Regions from separate parts of the Homo sapiens genome. Here all the other regions are linked to region 7. Evidence: promoter capture Hi-C in 16 types of primary human blood cells and fetal thymus (Javierre and others, 2016). All regions are on one chromosome and are shown on one strand. Each heading gives the region's core, a stretch centred on a gene start or on the middle of the fragment in contact. The rest is flanking DNA. Distances are from core to core; before and after follow the strand shown. Region 1 has its middle 7.0 kb from the start of LINC01374. Region 2 holds the start of FGFBP3 (fibroblast growth factor binding protein 3). Region 3 overlaps LOC105378424 (a long non-coding RNA gene). Region 4 holds the start of PANK1 (pantothenate kinase 1). Region 5 has its middle 52 kb from the start of LINC00865. Region 6 holds the start of KIF20B (kinesin family member 20B). Region 7 holds the start of HTR7 (5-hydroxytryptamine receptor 7).

Region 1 (4,065 bases), core at 1,395-3,894, 1.0 Mb after region 7:
CTCGGCTCACTGCAACCTTCGCCTCCTGGGTTCAAGCGATTTTCCTGCCTCAGCCTCCCGAGTAGCTGGGACTACAGGCACGCACCACCAAGCCCAGCTAATTTGTGTGTTTCTTAATAGAAACAGGGTTTCACCATGTTGGCCAGGATGGTCTTGATTTCCTGACCTCGTGATCCACCTGCCTTGGCCTCCCAAAGTGCTGGGATTACAGGTGTGAGCCACTGCGCCTTGCCACCTGAACTGTTTTTAAGCTTCTCTAAGCATCCTGAGGCACAGAGCACAGTGCTAGAAACAGATGGCAGCATTTCTTTTAATTTTATGGAGTAAACAGAGAGGACTGGGAGAGATGAAGATTAAACAAACAGATTATAAAGACTTCTTCCCATTTACTGGCCCCTGCACCTCCACTCAAACCCCGCATAAGTCACCTGAAGAAATAGACCAAGATAGAGTATCTAGCAGGTAAATATTTGACAAGTGAATGCATAAATTAATAAACAAATTAATGGTTTTTATAAAGCCCTGAGATTTTCTTTACTTTCTTTTTTTTTTTTTTAAGACAGGGCCACACTGTGTCCCCCAGGCTGGAGTGCAGTGGCATGATCATGGCTTGCTGTACCCTTGACTTTCCAGGCTCAAAAGATCCTCCCACCTTAACTTCCTAAGCAGCTGGGACTATAGGCATGTGCCACCATGCTTCTCTAATTTTTTTTTTTTTTTTGAAGAGATAGAGTCTCACTGTGTTGCCCAGGCTGGTCTCAAACTCCTGGGCTCAAGTGATCCTCATGCCTCAACCTCCCAAAGTGCTGGGATTAAAGGCATGAGCTACCACACCCAGCCCTGAAATTTTCTGATATATAATTAATACCCAAAAGAAGTGACAAGGAAGATAATTCTATCTAGTTTCACTAGTATTTATTTTTAAAATGCCTACTTTGCCTCATATCCTGATGTTGGGTCTAAATTAAGACACTCAACAAATATGGGAGCTTAGTTCGATGATGATGGTCGTGATTAACTGATTAACAACATCAGTTAATATTCATTAAGCACTATCATGGGCCAGGCGCCGTGTTTAATGTGTGGCCATCATCAAAAACATTTTGTTTGGCCAGGTATGGTGGCTTTTGCTTATAAACTCAACTACTAAGGAGGCTGAGGCAGAAGAATTGCTTGAGGCCAGGAGTTCAAGACCAGACTGGACAACATAGCAAGACCTCATCTCCACATCCAAAAAAATAAGAAGAAGAGTAACAAGACCTAGTGGTAGGCCTAACTATAATTTCAAAGTAACAAGAAGCATAAATATTTAGAGAAACTTGCAGGAACTGTGATGTAATGTGAATACATTTGAGATTTCTATTACTGACAAATAATGGGTGCTGCTCAAACTATGGGGTCTGTTGCTACATTAATAACTGAAGGAAATGCTAAATTTCAGCCTGAAGTTAATGAAAATAAAGATGCAATTTTTATTCCCATTCAAGTTCACAGACTGCCTGAATTTTCTCCACAGATCCCTTGTCCATAGTCTCTTTGATCTGAATATAAACTGAGCCAAGCTTCCCTTTTAGTGTTAGATGTTTTTTTAATAACCTGTTCTTTAGAAATGTCAAGAGTATTGGAGAATCACTGGCAGTCAGATCATTTTCTTGTCACCTTAAAATCAAGGTCAATGTGTAAGAGGCAGCTACTGGACAGGTCCTTCTCACTGTCAGTCCTGCACACTGGAGTGGTGGCCATCCACTCATATGTGCTCAGCTATCTATCTTATCCCCAGTGTGTCCTGGGAGACACTAGTCCAGTGACATATCCCGCTTTGTGGTCAAGTGAACTCAGGAAATGCTACATCAACTCTTTGCCTCTTAGAAATTTACAATGCAAACTAGCATAGTAAAGGCTTTGAGAGGTACTACAAAGCAGTTAACCCAAACATGGCCTGACCACAGAACCACCTTCTTTCTTTTTTCCACTGTGTAACTGCTAGTTTCATTGAACAGAGAATTCACCTTGGGAAACATTTGTTTGAGTAGTGTTAAAAGTACCACAAAACAACTCCCCAACTGACTGAAATAAACCAGCTCCAAATTAAACCCATAGGCTTTTCCCAGAACAAATCCAGAACAAGCTCTAGATGGAAAAGGGAAACTATGCACCAGGGTAGTTTGTGTTATGCTCAGCAATGTATGTGCTCAGTTTAACAAAAGCCATGCTTCTTCCTATTTGCCATGAAGGAGTTCTATGGCCAAGTTCTACCTGCTGAGTAAATACCCTTCTCATAATCACCACCAAACCATAGCAATCACAGTGGGTCAATATGACTTCAGTGATCTGATTTATTAATTAGTACTCTTGTTTTAAGTAACAGAGCCCACTGTAGTGATCCTAAGCATAAAGGCAATTCATCAGAAGGTGAAAGGTCATCTCACAAACCAGATAGAATGCAACCAAGTCACTTTAGGAGAGTAATGAACCCAGGGATTGCACAACTAGTAGGGCTTGGCTCTCAGCCTTCCTCCCTCCTTCTCCCTTCTCCTTTTCCCCTTCCTCCTCCCTCCTTCCTTTTGCCTCCTTTTCACCCCCCTCTTGTCACTCTCTCTCTCTCCCTTCTTTGCTTGTCTTCACTTTTCATTCTCTAATTCTAGCATGCTTTTCCTCTAATACAAGTGCATATACTCTCCCCCACCTTCACTGAATTGCTTCTTCAGTGAATTCCATAGTGTTGACTGGCTTTCTTTGATTTTGCATATGGCAAAAAAAAAAAAAAACCCATGGCTACCATGAGCTCCTGAGTTACCAGTAAAACCACAAATGAGACTGAATTCTGTCTGGTTCAGCTTGGGTCAGGTGGCTTCCCTGGCTTGCCAGGAGCCATGTCTATGATATAGTGAAGATCAGGGTCCACAAACAGGGAAGAGAGGATGAAATACAGACAACCTGCATTGATGACATCTGGAAAACTACTTAAACAGAGCAAAGACTTGCTTAGTTGATCACACACACGTTATTAATTCCATTACTGTTAATAACTTAAATTCTTGCTTCAGGCTGGAATATAATAAGAAGTATATGTGGCAAAATGTGCTCATTCCCCCTTCTCAACTAAACACCTGGACAAAGGCATCTTAGAAACAAAATCATCAGGATAAAAGAAAGAATTACTCAGATGCAATGGTTAATAATTAATAATCATTCCACCCACACACGAGGATTCCACCTTTATTGTTAATGAGCTAAGGACTCAAGGGTTACATATTTTCTGTGTGTATTTTTTAAATTTCTTTTCAAGCATTCAATAATTATTCTCAAATTATCCTTCAATATGAGCAAGAGGCTACAGAAAAGATGGTTATTCTCTCATAAGCATTCACAACATGATCCCAATACACGCCAGACTCGCCTCTGCCATTTTCTCACACCCACCTGTGTTCCAGCCACACAGAATGTCTTGCTCTTCCCAAGCTATGGAATATTGTTTATCTGAAATTCAAATTGAACTGAGTGTTCTCTATTTTTATTTACTAAATCTGGAAACCTACCCAGATCACACTTTGCCCTCAAAGCTCCCGGAGTTTGTCACGCTACGCCTTTCACTTAGGATGCCGTCCACCAGTCCCCTCCCCCGGATAAATTCAGTCTCCAAAAAAGGGAGGCTTAGAGTTTAGTGGAATGAAGTGGAAAATAGAGTATAGCACACATAGGTTAATCCTTGTCTTGTCAAGCTTAAGTTTCTGTGTGTGTGTGCGTGTGTGTGTGTGCATGTGCTGATTCAGTGTAAAATGTATTTTTTATTGTTAAGTTATGGTTAAAGTAGAATGAAAGCCTCTGAGCAACCTCTGAGCAAACCTCTGAGCAACCTCAGGATCAGCTGTAATTCTCAGTTATTATTTCTTGTGATCTCCTAGCATTCCTTTCAAACATTTTCAATGGCTCCTCATTTCATACATAGGCTTTCCATAATCTGGCCCCAACCTCTTACCCATCTCATCTCACAGCTAACTCCATTACACAAACCATCCACCTCAGATAAATGGCCTGCTTCCTTCCCTGAATCTATGACACACA
Region 2 (3,689 bases), core at 1,174-3,673, 1.1 Mb before region 7:
TATAGTATATTTAAACAATAATGCTGTCTTTTATAAGGGTTTGTCTATTTACCTATTCTTTACTCAGACATTGATGTAGACCTTGTCAGATTATTCTGAGTATTGTTAACAGTGCCTTTTTGATGGAATTCACACTTTTTGGCTGTCAACTTGTGCCATATACACACAAAATTTTGTGGAAGGCAGTTTTAATTTTTTGAAGAACATCTGTCAAAATTTAAGAAAACAAATGTATAAAATTCCATTTTTTCCAGTGTTTAGCATTTCTAGTAAGCAGTGAGGTTTTTTGTTTGACATACAGTGATGATGGCATTATTGACAAGCTATACATGAGACTGCAGATTATACTGAATCATGTTAAATGTACAGAAATAAAATATTAGATTTATATCAAACTTTCGCATTTGAACCAGTGGGGAAAACCCCACAGAAATCAGTAAGTTAACATTTCAATGTCTTTCTTATTTGACTAAGTGGAAAGAGAGTCTTTAAAATGTATAACCTGCCATTATGTAATTTGGTTTCATTTTATTCTACCTGTTGTGTGAGTTTAGTATATTTAATTTACTTTGTGTTACTCTACATACTGTTTATTTTTGTTACAGTTTTTAATTGAAGATGGACTCTGAAAGTGGTATAGGACCAGTGTCTTATTAATATCATTAATATATTAAGAGGAGCCACACAAAACCCATGACAAAATGAATGGAAATATTCTTTCTAAAAATTTAGAAAATTTTATACTTTTGCATTTATTATGTAAAATTATTTGTTTTACAATATCAAAATTTTTCGTTTAAAGAAAAAAATGCCATGAAACATTTGAACTGATGAGCCACAGAACTTCAGTTGAAATTTTTTTCACTTTTTAGCATGCTAAATATACATCTCAGTTTAAATATTCTGTTTAATGGCCATTTATAAATTCAAGCACTACCACTGGTCAGTTTTGTGTGATAGAATAAAAATATGTTACCTGCAGTGTAAGTATAGCACACTGTCAAATTCTTTTCCTTAAGGTGCACAGTAAATGTACAGATAGTTATAGGCCACTGTTTTTGCAATGTAGTACATTTCTAATCTATTATTCCTAACCTATTATAACTGTTTGCAGAGAGAAAATAATTGAATTTTTCTAATAATCTGTAAAATTATGCTAACTTCTACAAGTAGGCTTCTAAATAAAAATTTTAAAAAGAGCAAAAAAAAAAAAAAAGAAAGAAAAAACAGCTTTGCTTGGTCAGCACTTTGAGAGGCTGAGGCAGGTGGCTCATCTCAGGTCAGGAGTTCGATACCAGACTGGGCAACATGGTGAAACCCCTTCTCCACTAAAAATTAGCTGGGTGTTGTGGCAGGCACCTGTAATTCCAGCTACTGGGGAGGCTGAGGCAGGTGAATCGCTTGAACCGGGAAGGCAGAGGTTGCAGTGAGCCGAGATAGCACCACTGCGCTCCAGCCTGGGTGACAGAGTGAGCTCCCGTCTCAAAACAAACAAACAAACAAACAAACAAACAAACCCCCGCACACACACACAATCCCCCCCTCCAGAAAAAGCAGCTTTGCTTAAATGTAACATTTTCAAGATTCAAGAACACATTCATTCTCTCTCTCTTTTTTTTTTTTTTTGAGAGGCAGTCTCGCCCTGTCCCGGGTTCAAGTGATTCTCCTGCCTCAGCCTCCTGAGTAGCTGGGATTACAGGCATCTGCCACCACGCCTGGCTAATTTTTGTATTTTTAGTAGAGACGGGATTTCACCAGGCCAGGCTGGTCTCACATTCTTAACTATTATACCATTTCAATTGGTAATCTTACCGTTCAACTACTATAATACAAATAATTTTTTTAAACTTCTAATTTTTGGAGGACCCTTATAACTGATTTCTAATACCTAAAAATAATAAAAAGCCCAAATGTCCACTCCTGGGTGAACTGCTGGGCACTATTGTATGTTAATAAACTAGGATATTATATTTTTATTAGTAGTAACAATTATTAAGATTGAGAGTCTTAAGAAAGGCTATTGGAAATAATAGGTAAAAATGTAGAACTCAGAATATGAGAAATAGAATGTAAATGATATAATTGTGTAAAAAATGCCTAGTTTAGAATACTGAAGTTTGTTTTGTTTCATTTTATTTAACTTTTAAAACTTAGATCTTTTGTTTAATTTTTATTTTTTGGATGGTTAAGTACATGAAAGAAGAAAAACTTGGTTAATTTTGCCTGATTATTTTAAACATTGGAAGCAAAATACAAGATTTGTATTTCATACTACAGGACCGCTTCCATCATCCATCTGGAGAGACAGAGAGAGAGAGGGAGAGAGAGAGAGAAGCGCGGCGGTGATAAGTCTCCCAGTGTGAGAGAAATCGGGGAGGGGCGAAGAAGGGTAGGCCTCTTCTGTTCCATTGATACCACGTTCATTCACAGGGAGCCGGCTAAAACAGACTACTCCCCCGTGCAGTCGTTCCCTCTACCCTAATAAGGCTTTGGCGCCTCTCCCAGAACTCGGTAAGTTCAAAGTGTAGTAAAGTGCATGTTTCCAAGGAATCATCTGAAATGATTTTGTAGATAGTTTATTGCAGGTTGGAGAAGGGAGAAAATGAAGGAAGGGGTAGAGGGGGCAATTATCACGCATCGTTTTGCTATCGTATTTGCAAGGGGAAGAAAATCTCAATGCATACATGGTTCGAAAGTGATTATTTAGACAGTAAGCAGTTTCCCCAGGAAAGCTCCTCAGAGGGTCTCCTCGCAGGCTGCAGATTCTAGAAAGTCTGCGGAAGAGTAGTTCGCAGGTGCATGTGTCTGGGCGAAGCGCTGCGTGTGGCTCAGTTGGTGGCAGTCTCTGCCTCTGTCCGCAGGTCCTGGGGAATGCTCTTTGCCTGGTCCAGCCCCGACAAACGTGGTCTGAGAACAGCGGAGCGCGGAAACCGCGGAGCATGACTCCTCCGAAGCTGCGAGCGTCGCTGTCGCCGTCGCTGCTGCTGCTGCTGAGTGGTTGCCTCCTCGCGGCTGCTCGGAGGGAGAAAGGGGCGGCTAGCAACGTGGCGGAGCCGGTCCCCGGGCCCACTGGCGGCTCCTCGGGTCGCTTCCTCAGCCCCGAGCAGCACGCGTGCAGCTGGCAGCTCCTGCTGCCCGCCCCGGAGGCCGCAGCGGGCAGCGAGCTGGCGCTGCGCTGCCAGAGCCCGGACGGGGCGCGCCACCAGTGCGCCTACCGCGGGCATCCGGAGCGCTGCGCAGCCTACGCCGCTCGCCGCGCGCACTTCTGGAAGCAGGTGCTGGGAGGGCTGCGCAAGAAGCGGAGGCCCTGTCACGACCCCGCGCCGCTCCAGGCCCGCTTGTGCGCGGGCAAGAAGGGCCACGGCGCCGAGCTGCGGCTAGTGCCCCGCGCGTCCCCGCCCGCACGCCCCACCGTCGCGGGATTCGCGGGGGAGTCCAAGCCCCGGGCCCGGAACCGGGGGCGGACCCGGGAGCGTGCGTCCGGCCCAGCCGCTGGGACCCCGCCTCCCCAAAGCGCACCGCCCAAAGAAAACCCCTCAGAGAGGAAGACCAACGAGGGCAAGAGGAAGGCGGCCTTGGTCCCCAACGAGGAGCGACCCATGGGGACCGGGCCCGACCCCGACGGGCTGGACGGGAACGCGGAGCTCACGGAGACCTACTGCGCTGAGAAGTGGCACTCCCTCTGCAAC
Region 3 (3,931 bases), core at 778-3,277, 1.0 Mb after region 7:
TCCAAAACAAGTCTCAACTTTATCTACTTGTATTACAGATGTTGGCTATTTATCAACGTTTTCTGTTCCTTTCAACCTTAGTCATAGACGTCCTGATTTTCAACTAGACCTGTAGTAACCTAGAGTAAACATTTTATTGTCTATCTTCCATTGTAATCACATGGGGCCATGCTACTGAGTGCTTTCCAATGAGCTGTAACTGCAAGCATCACGTATAATTTCTAGAAATTCTCTTACAGGAAAGGGATGTATCTTTTTTCCTCCCTTCATCATTCACGTTGTCTGGGATGAAAACAACATGACTGGAATTAAAGCAGCCACCGTCAATGAGGAGGTTGAAGTCACGTATTGACAAAATGGAAGGAATCTGGTCCCTAAGAATGGTGGAGCCACCAATTGAATTCTAGGCTATGTACAGATTTCAGTTATGCGAGAGAGGAATAAATATCTGTCCAAGCCACTGTAATTTGGAGTTTCAGTTACAGCTACTCCAAATCCCAAATGATAAAATGTCTCTGTATTTCAATGGCCAACCACCTGACCAAAGCCCAGTCCATTTCACCTGAACTGCTGCAACAGCTTCCTAACTGTTCTATCCACATCCCACCTTGACCTCTTCCTCTGCTGAATTCTCCACACCTCAATAAGAACATGCTTGTAATATATATATGTATATATACGTATATATACATATATATGTATATATACATATATATGTGTGTATATATATATATATATATATATATGATCGAATCCTCCCTTTTTTTTACAATCCTTTAAGAAATTCCCATTAGTTTTAGAGTAAGTTTAAATTCTCAACATAGCCTATTCAATCTTACATTGTCTGGCTCCTAAAACTTCAGCTCATCCCTCGCTGCTTCCCCCCCTCACTCACTGGGCTCCAATCACATGGAAGTTTCAGATATCCTGTGCCCTCTACTGTTAGATTCACCTTAAATCTTCTGTCTCCAGTCCCTACTGCCTACTAAGTCTACTAATCAAATCTTTCGGGTCTCTGGTAAAATGCAACTTCCTCAGGAATTATAGTCAGGAATCATGACTATACTTTCTCATGACATCTTGGATTATGCCTTATAGTCCTTATTTCCTGCATGGTTAGCATGGTTATTTGTGCAATTATTCCTTTAATGTAGAGGTTTCAAATGGTATGTAGGACTAATCTGCTTACAGATGCATTCCATGGTCCACACAGTATTTCTTTTGAAAAGCTTTAATCAGTGCATTCTCTTTTTGGTTTGTCACACTTCCCATCAATTCACACCATTTCACAAATTTAGGTCCCTTTCCTGCCTCCTGCAGGCCTTTGCACATTTGGCCTGCCTCTCCTACTAAACTAGAGTCTCCATGAGGGTAAGGATGGTGCCTGTCTTCCTCATCACTCTATGCCCACTATCTGACATCCTTAAGACCTATCAAGGTGCTCTGGAAATCCTTGCCTAAGGAATAAAGCCAATGAATGAGCTGTTTTCATTGCCATTATTAGCAGCCTTTTTCTTCCTTTGGTTTTATTTTTAATACCAGATACCATAAGTAGATAAGTGTGGTGGAAGTATCCATTTGGTAACTATTTCACATGAAATTTTGAACAAATTTAGCACAAGACTCTGAACCTTAAGGCAAACTTTCACTTTTTATCCACTGGACTAAATAGAAAGTAAATTCATATAGTTACACTTTTGAATTTTGAGAAGTTTACAAAAATATTTCATCCAGGCCATTCTATTTCTATTCCCTAGGAGTTAGGCACCTCACTGACAGTGCCCCCAATTCTCCAAAGGCTTTTTAGCTCAAGGTTTAAAAAATGAAATGTAACTTTTAAAAAAGCAATCTGTCCTCCCTGATGGCAACTCCAAAAAATAAACCCAGATCACACTGCTTAAACGTTTTATGACAGCAAACATTGTGCTTAATACAAAACAGGAATTTTCAATTTGTCAATAATAAGAAAATGAAGATGCAAAACAAAATGTCTCTGTATTTTCCAGATATTTTATTTTTATGTTTCATATTTTCTTATTCTTCAAAGGGACAGAAGTTTGAGGTTTTGTATTTATTTTCTAAAGCTGTGGCCTTCTATATTTTGACAGAAAGTATTAGGGCTGAGTTACTTCTAAAAATTCCAGGTTCTCCACTCTTATAACACATTTACATTGACTTGAAAATTTTTCATTGCACCTACACACACATTTTTTGTAGGTTTTCCTCACTTGGTGAAGACTGCAATGTTGTTAATACCTCTGAAGCATTTTAGAGTTACCCAAACTCTAGATGAAAATTCTACAATAAGGAAATTCAGCAGGATGCTAAATAAGCAATATTGCTCTTTCTCTATAATTGTTGTCAAAATGTTAAAAGCTAAGCCTTCCAGCCAAAACAAAAAGAAATGATAATTTTCTGGATTGGATCAATGGTCCATTCAGGCCAATAGCATCTTCAACAATTCATTTGGGAGGTGATTTGCCCCTAACTATAATGTTAACAAGAACAGTGTTTCTCCAAGCATTTCAGAGTCTCTTAATCATGGTTCTTTTATTTGTGAATATATAAAAACATTTTTAAACTCATAATATTTCCCTTGACTTACTGTCCACCAGAGGAAGTGGTATTTTCTCTTACTTGGCTTAAGCATTCTTAAGCTGCAAAGGTAACTAACTACTCTCTCTTGTGTTCCAGGATTCAGTGAAACGGTCTCTATTGATAGCCAGATCAGACTGTGAATGAATGACCTTTTAAAACAGCCAGGTGTTTATCTCCCAGTGCATCCTTCCCTCTCTTCAGGATAAATCTTGGACAGTTAAGCTTATCCTCATGAGGTATCCTTCCCATGATATTTTTCCTGAAAAATTCCACTTGGCCTTTGAGAAGTGACTCACAACCATCTAAGGAAAAAGATACTCCAAAACAGGGCTCCAACTGGGTGGGCCTAGGCCATCTCAATGTCTCCAGTCCAGATCAACAAGGAACAGAAATACTGAGGGGTGGAAGAAATGACGAAGAAGCAGGGAGGAGGTTGGTAAGCAGTAGGCAGGTGAGGGGATCCACATCCACTGGATTGATAAGAAAGTTTGATTCCACAGCAAATACACCAGTCTAGAGTGTTCACAAAAACCCTTCAGACATTTTAGTTATGGGCACTGTCAAAGTTTGTTACAATCTTGCTTCAAGGACAAAGGCCTCCAGTAAGCCAATCAGAAATATTAATACATTCTTCATAAGAACATTTGATAGGAAAATACAAAAAGAAGAGAATGTTTGTTAAAAGCCACTAGATTGTTGAATGTCATTCAGTGGGGTAGATAGGTGACTGGTTTCCTAGAACAAGACTTTGGTCCATTAATGTTTTCCAGAATATTACTTAAGCATTTTGTCAGGAATGTTAATTTCTTCTCAGAATGAGGTTGCAAATTACATCATGTAAAAAGATTCCTTCCCACACCAGGTTTGGGGCAACTTCTCTTTTATAGTAGTCAGTTTCAAGGCAGTGACCAGAATTCATATGACAGTCAAGAATTGGAAACAATATAGCAGAGTGTGAGTTTTGCAGTCAAACGGACCTGAGTGGTGAACCTTAGTATTAGCTGATTCATGTGTAAAATGAGGGTAAAATAATAACTACCTTGTTAGGGAGGAGATACTAATAAATACTATTTCATTCTTGTTATTTATTTTCTCTGAATTTTTACAATTGATCACTTTTATATTAATCATTTTTATTCATCATCTTAATAATAAAAAATATTTGTTATTATTTTAAAGCATTATTATTTAAACATATTTATTATTTTTATGTGCTCATAGCAGCCAGGATCTGTATCTCCACATATCATTGCCTATTTCAAGGTCCTGAGGTAAGGTTTTAAAATTTAGAAAACACTTGAACACCAGAATCTGTTAGGCAATGTTATTCAAA
Region 4 (3,793 bases), core at 1,151-3,650, 1.2 Mb after region 7:
CTTTTTCTAGCACTTACAATGTGCTGGACACTTTACATATGTTAACCTTAAATAATGAGATTTAGAGAACATGATTAAGTATGAAGTTTGAGTGCAAAGCTTGAGGATAGCCACCTGGAAACACTAACTCCAAATGAGTGGGATCAGTGCTCCAAAGTGGAGAAGTTAAGATTTCACTTATACTGGCAGAGATGGAGAAGTTCCAGCAGAATTACATTTTCCATACAAGACCAATGCATATGCCACAGCGATTTGATTGGTTGCAGACTGCTGCATTCCAAGGAAGATTATTACTCTGTGAGGAGAGGCAGTGATCCAAGGGATTAGTATCTCTGGCCCTGCTCGGTCTTCCTAATTATTTACAAGGAAAAAAGGCAAGCCCAGGCATGGTGGCTCATTCCTATAATTCCAATACTTTGGGAGGCCAAGGTGGGAGGATCGCTTGAGCCCAGGAGTTGGAGGCTACAGTAAGCTACGACTGTGCCACTGCACTCCAGCCTGGGTGAAGGAGTGAGACCTTGTCTTAAAAAAAAAAAAAAAAAAAGCAGAAGTTGTAGCTGCATAGCCACATTTCTCTCAAGTCTCACAAAAAAGTTCCAATAGCTTGAAGTTTGAATTAATTTTACGCATGTGTTATGCATTTCATCAGTCTAACAACTCAGTGATGTCCTATTATTCTCAAGTTACAAATGAGGGAACAGATGCATGGTATAGTTACAAAATGATAAGGAGTCATAAACAGAGTACAAGGAGTAGGAAGAGGGTATGGCAGGGAGACCTAATGTAGCCCTAAGGGTCAGGGAACATTTCTCTAAATATGAGAAGTTAAAGAGGAGATCTAAAGTTGGAGTCTAGTAGACAAAAGAGGTCTTAGAGAAGAGACTTCTCTAAGGCAATGGAAACAGCAGAATGTTGTTTAAGGAATTGAAGGCAGCACAGGGAGCCCCTGATGAGGCAGGAGAGGTAGGGAGGGGCCAGATCACCTGGGTTTTTTTCTCTGTCTTTAAATAGCATAAGGTTAGGGAAGCTAAGAGAGTTGAGATTTGGAGTTTAGTCCCACCTTTGCTCTTAATAACCTCAGCCATCTGTCTGCAGCTCAGTTTCCTGATACGAAAAAAGTATGCAAGAGTGGATAGACCAGAGTGCTCCAGTGGCCCCCATGGTTCTCAAGCTCTGATTCTAGGTAAGGCTCTGCTGGAAGGAATTGCCAGATGCAAGCCCTAGATGCTGCTGAATGCACTGAAGCCCAGGGGCCCAGCAACCCAGTAGCCAGCCAGCACCTGCCAGACTCTGACTCCTCTGTAGATTAATTGCAAATCACGGAGAATATCACAAAATAAATCACACAATAAATACGGCTGTAAGCATGGTTTGTTCCCCTGTCGAAACAAAGGGTGAACTGCTAATCATAATAGCGTAATAAGGAAAACTAGCTTTCTGAGCATTTACTGTGTGCCAGGATTGTACCAGGTACTTTTAGTAGATTTTCTCACAACAGCCCCATTATGGATAGGAAAGTGAGGCCTCAAGAGATTGCATAACTTTGGGAAGGTATTCACCACCCAAATTAGTCCTGCATAGTGAGCATGGACAGTCCCGTTTCCTATTGCTAGAAGTGTTACCTTGAGCATTAACGTTATCTGGGTTTGCTCAGTGGCTGAGTTGGAATTTGAACCCAGTGCTAACTCCAAAGCTCGTAGTGCTGGTCACCACGTGATGCCGCCTTCCCTTCTTAGAAGAGGCAACTCCTTACTCTATAAATAACATGACATTGTCTTTTGAAGTCCTTTCTGGGTGAGGAAAGTGCTTTTTATAGCATGGAATTGCTCCTGTTTACTTGATCTCTTTCAGCACCGATTAATCCTGCCTACAGTTTTGTCCTTCACTGTCCTTACACTGTATTCCTAGGTTTCCTCCCTGCAAAAGACAACTCCATGAGACCACATGGTGTTTGAGTGTGTGTGCGTGCCAGCAAAGAAATTTCACTCCCCTCCCTCCCCAAGTCTGCCAACTTTTCTATAAATAATTGTTCTCCCTCCCCTCAGGCCTCTAAGTAGTTTGGTCACTTAACCAAACGCACAGGCACACACGCGCGCGCGCGTAAGCACACACTCACAAAGCGGGGAGGGTAACGTGAATGACCTTGCAAAGGTATCTTGCTCACTGGGGACAGGATTAGCAAACCTGACACCTCTGCAAATAATTGTCTTCCTCCCGTATTCCTCCTGAAACGGTTCGCTCCTTTCGCTGTCTCTCCCAGACCCATCTGGTTTTCACATCGCCATACAAAGCCCAACCCGCCCATCTCCTCTCTGCAAGCCCAGAGAACTTGATTCCCCATGTTGAAACTCGTCGGTGGCGGTGGCGGGCAGGACTGGGCATGCTCAGTGGCGGGGACCAGTCTGGGAGGCGAGGAAGCCGCGTTTGAAGTCGCGCGGCCTGGGGATCAGGGGAAGGCGGGCGGCGGGAGCCCCGGCTGGGGGTGCGCGGGGATCCCCGATTCCGCGCCCGGGGCTGGCGTGCTCCAGGCCGGCGCCGTGGGGCCGGCGCGCGGGGGGCAGGGCGCAGAGGAGGTGGGGGAGTCGGCAGGAGGAGGGGAGGAGCGCCGGGTTCGCCATCCCCAGGCGCCGGCTCTGCGGCTGCTGAATCGGAAGCCGCAGGGAGGATCCGGGGAAATAAAGACGCCGGAGAATGACCTCCAGCGAGGCCGCCTGAGCCGGGGCCCGCGCACAGCCCCGCCAGCCCCCGGCATGGGCGACCGCAGCGGGCAGCAGGAGCGCTCGGTCCCGCACTCTCCAGGGGCCCCCGTGGGCACCAGCGCCGCCGCTGTGAACGGGCTGCTGCACAACGGCTTCCATCCGCCGCCAGTCCAGCCGCCGCACGTCTGCAGCCGGGGTCCAGTGGGCGGCAGCGACGCGGCGCCCCAGCGCCTCCCGCTCCTGCCGGAGCTGCAGCCGCAGCCACTGCTCCCTCAGCATGACTCCCCGGCCAAGAAATGCCGGCTGCGGAGGAGGATGGACTCGGGGAGAAAGAACAGGCCGCGTAAGTCCCGCTGGGAGGGGAGCGCGGGCGCAAGGCAGACGCAGCGTGCGGGGCCCGGGACTGGGAGCGGCTGAGGCAGGCGCCGCAGCACGCCCCGTGCGCCCCCGCGTCTGCGGTCGAGGGACTGCACAGAGTAGGTTCCCGGGACTGATTCTTTTCCTAGGGGACATCAAGCACTACAGGTCTTTGCCTGAGCCTGCCCTTTGCTCGCTTCTATCAGTAGAACGAGGATTGGACACGAAGCTTGAGCGGGTCCCTAGGTCAAGGATATATAATAAGCGAACGCTCTGTCCGCCCTTCTAATTGGTGGCTGGGAAAACGCAGGTGTGTGAACATTTGCTGGGGTCCAGGAGTGAGGATAAAGTGGGCGGCACACCGAGGGTGCTCTCTCCTTTCTCACCCCTCTCGCTTCTCTGAGCGCGTCCTACTGGGGTTGCCTGCCCTTTGAATCACAGAGTAGCCAGCAGCGTCTCGGGTCTATTGGAGAGCGCAAGTCTGGAGGCGTGGAGTTTAACTACCCCCCAAAATCACAGCCTATTAGAAGCTGTTTCTTCACGGCCAATGAGAGGGTTTTTTGGGAGGGACACACCCACTGATACCATGTGGGCCGGAACTATGTGGACCAATGAGGATTGGAGGTGGATTTTTTTTTTCAACGAAGGGGGAGGTTGAGTTGAGGGTTTGTAATTGTAATGTACACCGGAGAAAGCCGAAGTGCATTATTTCACAATCTAAAGCTTGTATATATAAT
Region 5 (3,887 bases), core at 467-2,966, 1.1 Mb after region 7:
GAAACAACAAAAAGTTAATAAGCAGGGGTATGAAGTTAAAAAGTAGAGTTTTTATTAGTTTTATTTTTGCTTGTTTATGTAAATAAATAATGCTGTTATCAGGTTGAAATAATGGGTTATAAGATAGTATTTGCAAGCTTCATGGTAACCTCAAACCAAAAAAAAACATACAATGAATACACAAAAAATAAAAACGAAGAAATTAAATATTACCACCAGAGAAAAATCACCTTCACTAGAGGAAGTCAGAAAGACAGAAGACCAGAAAACAAACAACAAAATGACAGTAGTGAGCCCTTACTTATCATTAACAACATGAAATGTAAATGAACTAAACTCTCCAATCTAAAATACAGACTGACTGCATGAAAAAACAAGACCCATTGATATGTTACCTACAAGAAACACACTTCACCTACAAAGACACACACAGACTGAAAGAAAGAGAGGGAAAAATATATTCCATGCCAATGGAAATCAAAAGAGCAGGAGTCACTACAGTTATATCATACTAAATCAATTTCAACAAAATAACTATAAAAAAGAACAAAGTCATTATATAATGAAAAAGAGATCAACTAAGCAAGAGGATATAACAATGGTAAATATATATGAATCCAAACTGGCACATCAGATATATAAAGCAAGTATCATTAGAAGTAAAGAGCAAGATAGGCCCCAATACAATAATAGCTGGAGACTTCAACACCCCACTTGCAGCATTGGACAGATCTTCAAAGAAAATCAAAAAAGAAACATCAGACTTAATCTGTACTACAGACCACAAGGATCTAATATTAAACAGATATTTACAGAACATTTCATCCAAGAGCTGCAGAATACATATTTTTTTCTTCGGCACATGGAGCATTCTCAAAGACCACATTTTAGCTCACAATATAAGCCTTAACACATTCAAAAAAATTGAAACATCATCAAGCATCCTCTCTGACTACAATGGAATAAAACTAGAAATTAATAACAAATTTTGGAAACTGTAAAAATACATGGAAATTAATATGCTCCTGAATGACCAGTGGGTCAATAAAGAAATTAAGAAAGAAACTGAACAATTTCTTGAAACAAATGATAATAGGAACACAACATACCAAAACCTAAGGGATATAGAAAAAGCAGTTCTCACAGGGAATTTATAGTTATAAGTGCCTACATCAAAAAAAACAGGAAAAACTTCAAATAAACAATTTAACAATGCACCTTAAAGAACGAGAAAAGCAAGAGCAAACCACACCCAAAATTAGTAGAAAAGAAATAATAAAGATCAGAGCAGAAATAAACAAAATTGAAATTAAAAATACAAAAGATCAATGAAACAAAAAGTTGGTTTTTGAAAAGTTAAACAAAATTGACAAACCTTAAGCCAGACCAAGAAAAAAAAGAGAGAAGATTCAAATAAAATCAGAAATGAAAAAGGAGATAATACAACTGATACCACAGAAATTAGAGGCTACTATGAGCAACTACATGTCAGTAAATTGAAAAATCTAGAAGAAATGGACAAAATTCCTAGATACAAAAAACCTACCCAAGATTGAATCAGGAAGAAATCCAAAATCTGAACAGACCAATAAGTAACGAGATCAAAGTCGTAATAAAAAGCCTCCCAGTAAAGAAAACCCCGGGATCCAATGGATTCACAGCTGAATTCTACCAAACATTTAAAGAAGAACTAATGCCAATCCTACTCAAACTATTCCAAAATACAGAGGAGGAGGGAATACTTCCAAATGCATTCTACAAGGCCAGTATTACCCTGATACCAAGAATAGACAAAGACACAACAAAAAGAGAACTGCAGGCCAATGTCTCTGATGAATATTGATGCAAAATGACCTCAACAAAGTACTAGCAAACTGAATTCAACAATACATTAGAAAGATCATTCATCATGACCAAGTGGGATTCATTGCTGGGATGTAAGGATGGTTCAACATACACAAATCAATGAACATGCTATATCACATCAACAGAATGAAGAATAAAAACCATATGATCATTTCAATTCATGTTGAAAGGGCATTTCAACATCCCTTCATGATAAAAGCCCTCAAAAAAAATTCAACATCCCTTCATGATAAAAGCCCTCAAAAAGCTAGATATAGATGGAACATACTTCAACATAATAAAAGCCATATATGACAGACCAACAGCTAGTATCATACTGAATGGGGAAAAACTGAAAGCCTTTCCTCTAAGATTTGGAACAAAAGGATGCCCACTTTCACCACTGCTATTCAACATAGTACTGGAAGTCCTAGCTAGAACAATCCAAGAAGAAAAAGATACAAAGGGCATCCTTGAAAAGGAAGAAGTCAAATTATCCTTGTTTGCTGATGATATAATCTTATATTCGGAAAAACCTAGAGACCACAAGAAAATTATTAGAACTGATAAATTTAGTAAAGTTGCAGGATACAAAATCAATGTACAAAAATCAGTAGCATTTCTATATGCCAACAGCAAACAATTTGAAAAAGAAATTTAAAAAGTAATCTCATTTACAACAGCCACACATAAAATTAAATACCTAGAAATTAACCAAAGAAGTGAAAGATATCTATAATGAAAACTATAAAACACTGATGAAGGAAATTGAAGAGGACCCCAAAACATGAACAAATATTCCATGTTCATGGATTGGACAAATCAGTATTGTTAAAATGTCCATACTGCCCAAAGCAATCTACAGTTACAAGGCAATCCCTATCAAAATACCAATTACATTCTTCACAGAAATAGAAAAAATAATCCTACAATTTATATGGACCCACTAAAGACCCAGAACAGCCAAAACTATCCTAAGCTAAAAGGACAAACTTGGAGGAATCACATTACCTGACTTCAGATTATACCATAGAGCTATAGTAACCAAAACAGCCTGGTACTGACATAAAAGCAGACACATAGACCAATGGGACAGAATAACCCAGAAACAAATCCACACAACTACAGTGAACTCATTTTTCACAAAGGTGCCAAAAACTAACAATGGGGAAAAGACAGTCTCTTTAATAAATGGTGCTGAGAAAACTGAATATCCCCACGTAAAAGAATGAAACTAGACCCCTATCTCTTCACATATACAAAAAAACAAATCAAAATGGATTAAGATGTAGATCTAAGACCTCAGGCTATGAAACTACTATAAGAAATCATTGAGGAAAATCTCCAGAACATTGGCCTAGGCAAAGACTTCTACTAGAGCAATACCCCACAAGCACAGGCAACCAAAGCAAAAATGGACAAATGGGATCACCTCAAGTTTAAAGCTTTTGCACAGCAAAGAACACAAACAACAAAGTGAAGAAACAACTCACAGAATGAGAGAAAACATTTGCAAACTATCCTTCTAACAAGGGATTAATAACCAGAATATGTAAAGCGTTCAAACAGCTCTATAGGAAAACATCTAATAAACTGACTAAAAAAAAAACATGGGCAAAAGATTTAAATAGACATTTCTCAAAAGAAGACATAAAAATGGCAAATAGGCATGTGAAAAGGTGATCAACATCACAGATCATCAGAGGAACACAAATCAAAACTACAATGAGATATCATCTCACCCCAGTTAAAATGGCTTATATCCAAAAGATAGGCAATAACAAATGCTGATGAGGATATAGAGAAAAGGGAACACTTGTACACTGTTGGTAGGAATGTAAATTAGTACAAACACTATGAAAAACAGTTTGGAGCTTCCTCAAAAAACTACCATATGGTCCAGCAATCCCACTGCTGGGTATGTACCCAAAAGAAAGGAAATAGAAGAGATATCTGCACACCTATGTTTGTTACAGCACTGTTTACCATAGCTAAGATTTGGAAGCAAGTTAAGTGTCCATCAACAGATGACTAGATAAAAA
Region 6 (3,996 bases), core at 787-3,286, 1.2 Mb after region 7:
CATTTGCCAGACACATAAAACCCGGGATTATCAAGACCCCCAAGCCACTGCTGCCCTTGAGAGTTTCTATGATCCGGAGACTCTCCACTGTGCAACATCATTTAGGCATGTAAGCCCCTCTATGATTCTTTCCTCCCCGACTCCCCATTCCCCTTGCCCTCTTTCCCCTCTAGATGGTGGCCCCTCACCCTGGTCTAGAAAAGGTCCCAAACTGAGACGGATTTCCTTTGCCTACAATCCTGTCAAAATCCTTGTTTATTCCTGCCATCTTGTTGTCAATCTTTTTCCTTGATCAGGCTGAAATTCCTAAACGTATCACAAGAACATAGTTGACTTTTTTCCCCTAAATTGCAAAAAGACTAAGGAAAGCACTGATCTAGATCATGGGTAAGGGGGTGCAGAGGGGGGAGCATCTGCAAAACGTTAAAGTACCGGCCTGACATTTCATAACACAGAGTTCATGGAAATGCCCAGAAAACTAAAAAACACCTGTGGCTTCAAATAATAATTTTTGGTTTAAAGAAAAGTGTTGATAAATCTTTTAAATTGCTGAATTAAAAAGAATATTCCTATGTACTAAAAGCAGTTATAATAAAGTATTTGTTCATATGCTCATTTTTCAATGAACAAACTACTTCCTAGCATTTCTAAAAGTGTTCAGACTTACTGTAACTTCTTGCGATTTTAGATGACTTCTACTTATACGTGGCCTTCCCAACTAAACTGGAAACTTCTTGATGGCAAGAACCTTGCCTTATACCACTCTGTATCCCCTATAACAAATTCAGCGACTTATGCAGGGATAAAGACTACCTAATGACTTAAAATAATGGTTATAAAGAAAATACTATTCCAAAAAAAAAAAAAAAAGTCGGTCCTAGTCTGTAATATTATCTTTCGTGACAGCAGGCTCCAAGACCTCATTTTTCATTTCAAAAGGCTGCTCTGACTGGAAAACTGCATATTTACCCTCTCTCCAATAAGAATCCACAATTGGAGACTTTGGTGAAAAATAGCAGAATCTGTTGCTGAATGAGGTTTCTGAATGTGGTCTACAACACAAAGCCTCAAAAAAAGTCTTCACAACTAATCGATGAGTATTTTATGTTATTTTTACAATTTAAAATCTGGAGTCTTGGACATGTAAGATAAATACACTGTTACACTACCTAACCCATAAGGCGTGAACTTCTGTAAACTAGTAGTTTAGCAAGAAATATAAGAGAACTGTGCCAGACATGCATCACTGAACCAGCGAGCGAATCGAGATGGAGAAAGCCTTCTAAACTGGGGAATGACAGCAGTCACTGTGCCACAAACTCTTCAGCCTGGCACTGCAAAACCCTAGAAGGGCAAGCCCCAAGGACCAGTAGGAGTAGTCTGGAAATAAGTGCACAGAGGCTACCACAGGGCTCCCCCCGCAAAAAGGCCGTGTTACCTACCAGCCGAGCAAACTGCTCACCTCAGAGCTTCAGAAAACTAGGTGTGGCAAAACAGGCCTGTTCCTCAACAACAACAGAAGCAACAACAATAATAATATTAATAACTGCAAACATTTAGTACCTACTGTGTGCCAGCACTAATAACTTTACACATTACCATTTAATCTTCACAAAAGCCGAAAGAAATAGACACTTCATTGCAGCCTTTTAACTGATAAGAAAACTAAGGTACAGAGAGAGATTAAATGAATTGTCTTGCGTCACTCAGCTAATTAGCAGTGGAGGCGAGATTTAAACCGTAACCGAATTAGTATGACTCATTCCTCGCTGCGTACCCCGTGTTCGCATCGCTCCGCAACCCAGTTCCTGACAGTAACCTCCACTGGGGTATGAGCCCTGTCGGAACATGTCCACATTGCCAAAGCCGTTTCCCCACCTTAGGCCCCATACATGCGCAGTCACCCACCTCCTTCCCCACACATTCCCGCGGGTCACCTCCTCACCTGCAAACTTCGCCTGACTAGCCAGACCCGCGAGCAGCACTGCGATGTTACCGTTTTCAAATTCAAACAATGGCGGCCAGGGCACCGCACTGAACGCTGGGAGTAGGTGGGGCGTCCAGAGCTCCGCCAGGGAGCGTAGCCGGCTCGCGCTGCGGGCTTTCCAGTGGCTACCGGAAGAAGCTCTCCAATATGGGGGCGGGTCTTGAAACGCGGGCAGCCAATGGGCGGAAGCAGGCGTGGGCCGCCCTGGTGCTGACGGTCTGGTTTGCCTCCCAGCTCTGCTAGCCGGGCTTTAGTAGTGCGCTTTCTCGCGGCTGTCATAAGTACCACGCTGTTGACTGGGACACCGATCTCCAATTCTGTCCTTGAGGCAATAAAGATGTGGCGAAGGCCCGAGGTGAGGCCACTGCCACTGCACTTAGTCCTGCGACTCCCCTAAGGACGGGCCGAGGAATGGCGGGCTAGCCACTTCCCAGTCCTGTCCCTACGGGGCAGAAAAAGGCTCGGCATCCCGGGATCCGGAGGGTCACTTCCCTCGCTGCATCCCCATTGTGCAACTGCCAGTCTAAAAATTGATATAGGTAAGCTTATGAATGCTAAAACTAATGAATGCAAGATGCTAAAACAAACAATTAACTGAAAGGTTGTAGGGAAGAGGATGTTAGTATCTCAAAGAATCACCCTACAGATCATTTCTTATTATAAAGGGAAAATAGAATTTTACACTGAAGAGATTTATTAGACATACCTTAACCAAGTGAAGATACTTAGCATCGCTAATATCACCCGATAGTATTTGTGCTAGAAATGTTTGACATTAATCATGAGGAAACAATCAGAAAAAAACAATGTAGAATATTCTACAAGACAACAGGCCTAGGCTCTTCAAAAATGTCAGTGTCATGACAGGAAAAAGAAAAAAACGAAGTGGAAAATTACTTTAGTCGAGAGTCAAAAGAAACCAAATGAAATTTGTGAATCTTGGCTGGTTCATAGTTTTTAAAAAAAAAAAAAAACTTCGAAAGACATTTGTGGACAACTGGGGAAATTTAAATATGAACTACATATTAGATGATATTGAATCAGTTTTAAATTGATTGCATGTGAGAATTAATTTGTGATTAAGTGGAAGAATGCCTTTGTTTTTGGAAGGCGCTTGCTAAAGTAATTAGCAGCAAAGTGTCACAGTGTTTGCGGCTTACCTTCAAAAGATATGGCAAAAAAATAGAGAAAGCAAATGTGGCAAAATATTAGTAATTGGTGAATCTAGTTGAAGGGTATAATGGTGTACATCGTACCAGTCTTGCAACTTTCTAAAATAACAGATTTTATAAAATAAAAAGAGGAGGGGGGAAAAGGAATAGAATTCTGATCTTTACCATGGCCTCCCAGGTCCTGCACAATCAAGTGTCAGCCGACCTCACTCCCCACTAACTGTACAGTAAGTTGATCTGCTCTGGATACCTCAAACACCAACTTCTTTCCAGCATGTATGAACCTTTGCATGGGTTGTTCCCTGTACCTAAATTCTCTCTTCTCCATTCAACACGTGGCACTTCCCTTCATCATTTAGGTTACGTCTAAAATAGTACCTTCTTAAAGAAGACTTTCCTGGCTACTGTATCTCAAGTGAGCACTCTTTTTTTATTTGCAGGTTCAATTTCATTTTTATACTTTTTACAACTAGCAATTGTTGTTGTTCCCCCACCCTGTAAAATCTAAGTTCTGTGAGTAGAATAACTGTGTTTTGTTTGGTCGCTAATGTATCCTCAATGACTCTCTAACACAAGACAAGCAAATCAATATTTGTTGAACAATGAATGAAAGCTGATGTGGCTGGGTAGAGACCATGGGGAGGAGTCAGGGGAGTGAATCTGTAGGCATGGGCCAAGGCCAGACCCTGTAAGCCTTAGCCAAGTTACTGACTTGAGTATTACGAAATGCTTACTGGATAACCAGTTTTAAGCATGGGCATGGTGCAATCCAATGTGCATCTATCTTTTGAAAAGGTTAATCTCCTGGAGAAACTAGAGGCAGCCAGGGAGGATGCT
Region 7 (4,018 bases), core at 1,510-4,009:
CTCCTGAATGGGATTAGTACCCTCATAAAAGGGACCCCAGGCCAGGCTTGGTGGCTCATGCCTGTAATCTCAGCACTTTGGGAGGCTGAGGCAGGCGGATCACTTGAGGTTAAGAGTTTGAGGCCAGCCTGGCCAACATGGTGAAACCCGGTCCCTACTAAAAACAATACAAAAATTAGGCAGGTGTGGTGGCATGTGCCTGTAATCCCAGCTACTTGGGAAGCTGAGGCAGAAGAATCGCTTGAACCTGGGAGGTTGAGGTTGCAGTGAGCCGAGATCGCGCCACTGCACTCCAGCCTGGGTGACAGAGCAAGACCCTGTCTCAAAAAAAAAAAAAAAAAAAAAAAAAAAGAAAGAGAGACCCAGAGAGCTCTCCTACCCCCTTTGCCAGGTGAGGACACAGCAACATGGCTAAATTTACTGTTGCCTTGTTCTTGGTAAATGTTTGTTGTTAAGCCACCCAGGCTATGATATTTTTGTTATGGCATCCCAAAGGGACTAAAACAAGACAAAAGCAAAAACTAGAAGCTGTTGTGAAATATAAATGGGCTACGTGAGGGCTGTAAGAGTGTAGGTGGTAAATCATATTGACTAGAGGTTTAAATACAAATAAAATGATTAATTTTCAAAATCTGTGTGTAATTACTCTGGAATATTATTTGACAGAGCCAAGACAGAATATATAAGCTGAACTGATTAGGGTATTCAAGGGGAAGAATACAAAAGTCAAAATAAGTTAAAATGAGTTGAAAAGTTAAAATGAAAAAAATATCAAAAGTATCTTGGGGAATATACTACATGAAGGAATTTTTAAAAGACCTTAAGACAATTCCAAACCTCAAAATAAAAAAATGGAGACATTTCAATGCAGTCACATATGATCTTGGATAAGTTATAAAATTTCTCCCAGCCTCTATTTCCTCCTCTGCACTGAAGGGTGAACAAATGGTTTCTTAGATGCATTCCAGCAACAAACTATTTGTCTTTTGTCTGAGATTTCCTCTCTCCCAAGATCCCCAGTGGATGCCTAAAACCCCGGATAGTACCCAATCGTATATATACTATGTTTTTTTTTTTGATCTGGTAAGAGAGAGGGCTACTAAGTGACTAATGGTGGATGGCATATACAGTGTGGATATGTTGGACAAGGGATGATTCATATCCTGGGTAAGATAGAGATTTCATCACGCTACTCAGAATAGTGTGCAATTGACAACTTACACATTGTTTATTTCTGAAAATTTCCATTTAATATTTTCGGACCGTGGTTCACCACAGATAACAAACCAAGAAAAGCGAAACAGAGAATAACTAACATAAGTAAGGTTGAAGAAATTTCCTCATCCATCTTAACTGTTAGATAATATTGCTTTGTGGCCTAGGTATTATATTCAACTCTTCCTCTGACTCAATGGATTGGTTTGCTTATCCTAGGCAGAGAGGAGCCTCTGAAATGTTGATCACAGCAAAAGAGCTGTGAACATTAGGGCTTTTTTTTTTTTCCATTAAAACTTTTTCTGAATGTGTACAGGGAAGAATATGGGCATAGTAATCAGATAAACTTGGGTTTGAAACATAACTATTCCTTACCAGCTGATTGCAAGAGCTAACAACCTTCCCTATCTGGAAAAACAGAGCTAATACCCACCTTGAAGAATGAAAGTACTATTCAGCACTCTGATCAATATACTTTGAGGTTTTTATTCCTTTTCTTCTTATTTATAATCCGCTAGGGCCTAACAAGAAAAAACAGATTTGATTATTTTTAGAGTCTTAAACTACAGAAATCACTGCTGGCTTCCAATGAAACCTTCAAACAAAATGGAATGAAGCAAGTCTCACAAATAATAAAAATCAGCCGCTCTGACAGGGTTTGGATACCAAGGGGAATTTTAGCCAATAGGTATTAAATCAACATACACCTCCAGGATTCCTTTATAGAAGAGTATAACCGGTCATTTCTTTGCTTATGTGTAAGACTTCCAGAATGCTACGGGAAAATTAACTCTCTTTTCAATATATTAGGCTTTGAAGTCTAAATATAAAGGCAATCAGGGTCTATTTTCAGAGCGGAGAGGACTGTTTCTAGACATCCAGGAAGGATTAGTCCAAATGGGTGTAACCCCCTTGGAGGCCTTGTCCCCAGAGCATCCTCATCTCCTGGGTGCCAGGGGCTTAAGGAATCCCCCTCCCTCCTTTTTTTCTTTCTTCCTCTTCTCGGAGCTCCCACCCTCACCCCATTCGGCTGCTTCTTTTCCATCTTCGCTTCTTCCCATAAGCGGTCAAAATAGAAAACGGAAGTACCTATTTGTTGCTTAGTGTAGTGCTCAGAGACGTTTTTTTGGTTGTTGTTTAATTAAGAAAAATAAAATCCCCCTCTAGGTTCTTCATTTCGCAATGAGCCCAAACATCCGCTGGCTCATTAGGCCTCTTAACAAAAGAAAAATGCCCCCACTGAACTGTGGCTGACTAGTGTGCGGAGGCTGGGGTCGGCTGGAGGGGTTCTAAGTATCTATCATGCGGCAAGGACAGCTTCCCGGGCGAGGGGACCCGGGATCCCGGGAGGCGCGTGCAGCGCCGCCCCCTCACAGTAGGGAGGCGCGGGAGAGGCGGCGGTGCCTGCCCAGCCCGGGTATCCCGTCCCAGGAGCGCGAGGGAGCGGGCAGCGGCCGGAGGCGGCGGCGGCGGGGACGCGGCGCGGCTGCCGCAGGGGAGCGGCGGCGGCGGCGGCGGCGGCGGCGGGCGCGAGGGGCGGGGCGCACTCCGCAACTTCTGCCGCTGCCGCCCGGGCGCTCTCGGCGCAGCCGAGCTGCTGCTGCGAACTGTGGAGCTGCCAGCGGAGCCCAGCCCGAGCTCCCTCGACTCCGCGCGTCCCAGGCGTCCGTCGGGGGCCGAAGCGCCTCCCGCAGGGAGTCCCCGTGAGGCCGCGCTGCCGCGTTACCCGCAGCGGCCGGGGGTCCGGGGAGTGCGGGGCTCCGAGACAGAGCCAGGCGCCCCCCAGCGGTCGGCGCGGGCCCCATGGCTGGGCCGGGCGGAGCGGAACCGGTGAGGTGAAGCCCCGGGGCCGGCAGCCGGAGGCGCGTGGCCGGGGCGCCGGCTCCATGGGCAGCGGCACACGGCGGCGCGATGATGGACGTTAACAGCAGCGGCCGCCCGGACCTCTACGGGCACCTCCGCTCTTTCCTTCTGCCAGAAGTGGGGCGCGGGCTGCCCGACTTGAGCCCCGACGGTGGCGCCGACCCGGTCGCGGGCTCCTGGGCGCCGCACCTGCTGAGCGAGGTGACAGCCAGCCCGGCGCCCACCTGGGACGCGCCCCCGGACAATGCCTCCGGCTGTGGGGAACAGATCAACTACGGCAGAGTCGAGAAAGTTGTGATCGGCTCCATCCTGACGCTCATCACGCTGCTGACGATCGCGGGCAACTGCCTGGTGGTGATCTCCGTGTGCTTCGTCAAGAAGCTCCGCCAGCCCTCCAACTACCTGATCGTGTCCCTGGCGCTGGCCGACCTCTCGGTGGCTGTGGCGGTCATGCCCTTCGTCAGCGTCACCGACCTCATCGGGGGCAAGTGGATCTTTGGACACTTTTTCTGTAATGTCTTCATCGCCATGGACGTCATGTGCTGCACGGCCTCGATCATGACCCTGTGCGTGATCAGCATTGACAGGTAAGGGCCGGACCGCCCCGTCCCAGGCTCCGGCTGGGGACCGGCTGGCAGCTCAGCCCCGCGCGCTCGCCTTTCCTGGGAGGATCAAGCTAGACTTCAAGGCGGGATGAAGGGCTGCGCTTAAAACACCGCTCCCCCCAATCCACCCTACACCAACCAAACTTCGGTTACGGCATAGCCTATGTACATCTTTAAAAGAAAAACCGGAAATGTTCTGGTTTACTGTAGTGACGAATTTAAGACCAAAGTTAAGAGTATTTTAAGCCTTAGCATTTCCACCAGCGGGTCCCTTGCCTTGGTTTTTGGAAGGAAGGGATTTGGTGCTCCCTGACTTGATCAAGCCTTGCTGTGAG

What was found. Contacts are between HindIII fragments. The CHiCAGO score rates a contact against its expected background, and 5 or more counts as called.
Region 1: a fragment that was not itself captured here is called in contact with the fragment with the promoter of HTR7 in region 7 in 5 of 17 cell types (M2 macrophages, total B cells, M0 macrophages and 2 more); the score reaches 7.6 in M2 macrophages.
Region 2: a contact is called between the fragment with the promoter of FGFBP3 here and the fragment with the promoter of HTR7 in region 7, in 6 of 17 cell types (naive CD8 T cells, fetal thymus, neutrophils and 3 more). The highest score is 7.1, in naive CD8 T cells.
Region 3: a fragment that was not itself captured here is called in contact with the fragment with the promoter of HTR7 in region 7 in 9 of 17 cell types (M0 macrophages, naive CD8 T cells, naive B cells and 6 more); the score reaches 9.7 in M0 macrophages.
Region 4: the fragment with the promoter of PANK1 here is called in contact with the fragment with the promoter of HTR7 in region 7 in 4 of 17 cell types (M0 macrophages, M2 macrophages, erythroblasts and 1 more); the score reaches 7.2 in M0 macrophages.
Region 5: a fragment that was not itself captured here is called in contact with the fragment with the promoter of HTR7 in region 7 in 8 of 17 cell types (naive B cells, M0 macrophages, total CD4 T cells and 5 more); the score reaches 8.5 in naive B cells.
Region 6: a contact is called between the fragment with the promoter of KIF20B here and the fragment with the promoter of HTR7 in region 7, in 8 of 17 cell types (M1 macrophages, naive CD8 T cells, M2 macrophages and 5 more). The highest score is 7.5, in M1 macrophages.

Annotation. Positions count from the first base shown.
Region 1 is chr10:89,844,834-89,848,898 of GRCh38, reverse strand. No RefSeq gene overlaps it. Among named protein-coding and RNA genes, the nearest start is that of LINC01374, 7.0 kb to the left of the region's middle. The HindIII fragment of the contact is 2,160 bases long and covers 1,565-3,724 here.
Region 2 is chr10:91,908,220-91,911,908 of GRCh38, reverse strand. It overlaps FGFBP3 (fibroblast growth factor binding protein 3), which reads left to right and starts at 2,423. Exons shown (of 2, transcript NM_152429.5): 1 at 2,423-2,511; 2 at 2,862-3,689. The coding sequence starts at 2,940. FGFBP3-AS1 (FGFBP3 antisense RNA 1) reads right to left here. Exons shown (of 2, transcript NR_199602.1): 1 at 3,660-3,689; 2 at 2,561-3,012. RefSeq lists an enhancer at 2,783-3,077 and a silencer at 2,981-3,550. The HindIII fragment of the contact is 14,773 bases long and covers 1-3,689 here.
Region 3 is chr10:89,824,086-89,828,016 of GRCh38, reverse strand. LOC105378424 (a long non-coding RNA gene) reads left to right here. Exons shown (of 3, transcript XR_946196.3): 2 at 2,695-2,834. Among named protein-coding and RNA genes, the nearest start is that of LINC00865, 3.4 kb to the left of the region's middle. The HindIII fragment of the contact is 1,591 bases long and covers 1,232-2,822 here.
Region 4 is chr10:89,643,849-89,647,641 of GRCh38, reverse strand. It overlaps PANK1 (pantothenate kinase 1), which reads left to right and starts at 2,400. Exons shown (of 7, transcript NM_148977.3): 1 at 2,400-3,042. The coding sequence starts at 2,751. It overlaps PANK1-AS1 (PANK1 antisense RNA 1), which reads right to left and starts at 3,528. Exons shown (of 5, transcript NR_184344.1): 1 at 3,443-3,528. RefSeq lists silencers at 2,397-2,876, 3,577-3,626. The HindIII fragment of the contact is 3,186 bases long and covers 102-3,287 here.
Region 5 is chr10:89,775,050-89,778,936 of GRCh38, reverse strand. No RefSeq gene overlaps it. Among named protein-coding and RNA genes, the nearest start is that of LINC00865, 52 kb to the left of the region's middle. The HindIII fragment of the contact is 3,153 bases long and covers 140-3,292 here.
Region 6 is chr10:89,699,630-89,703,625 of GRCh38, reverse strand. KIF20B (kinesin family member 20B) reads right to left here and starts at 2,036. Exons shown (of 33, transcript NM_001284259.2): 1 at 1,946-2,036. RefSeq lists enhancers at 1,358-1,874, 1,875-2,390 and a silencer at 2,435-2,514. The HindIII fragment of the contact is 4,302 bases long and covers 1-2,533 here.
Region 7 is chr10:90,856,780-90,860,797 of GRCh38, reverse strand. HTR7 (5-hydroxytryptamine receptor 7) reads left to right here and starts at 2,759. Exons shown (of 4, transcript NM_019859.4): 1 at 2,759-3,665. The coding sequence starts at 3,127. RefSeq lists silencers at 2,722-3,091, 3,112-3,161. The HindIII fragment of the contact is 8,867 bases long and covers 1-4,018 here.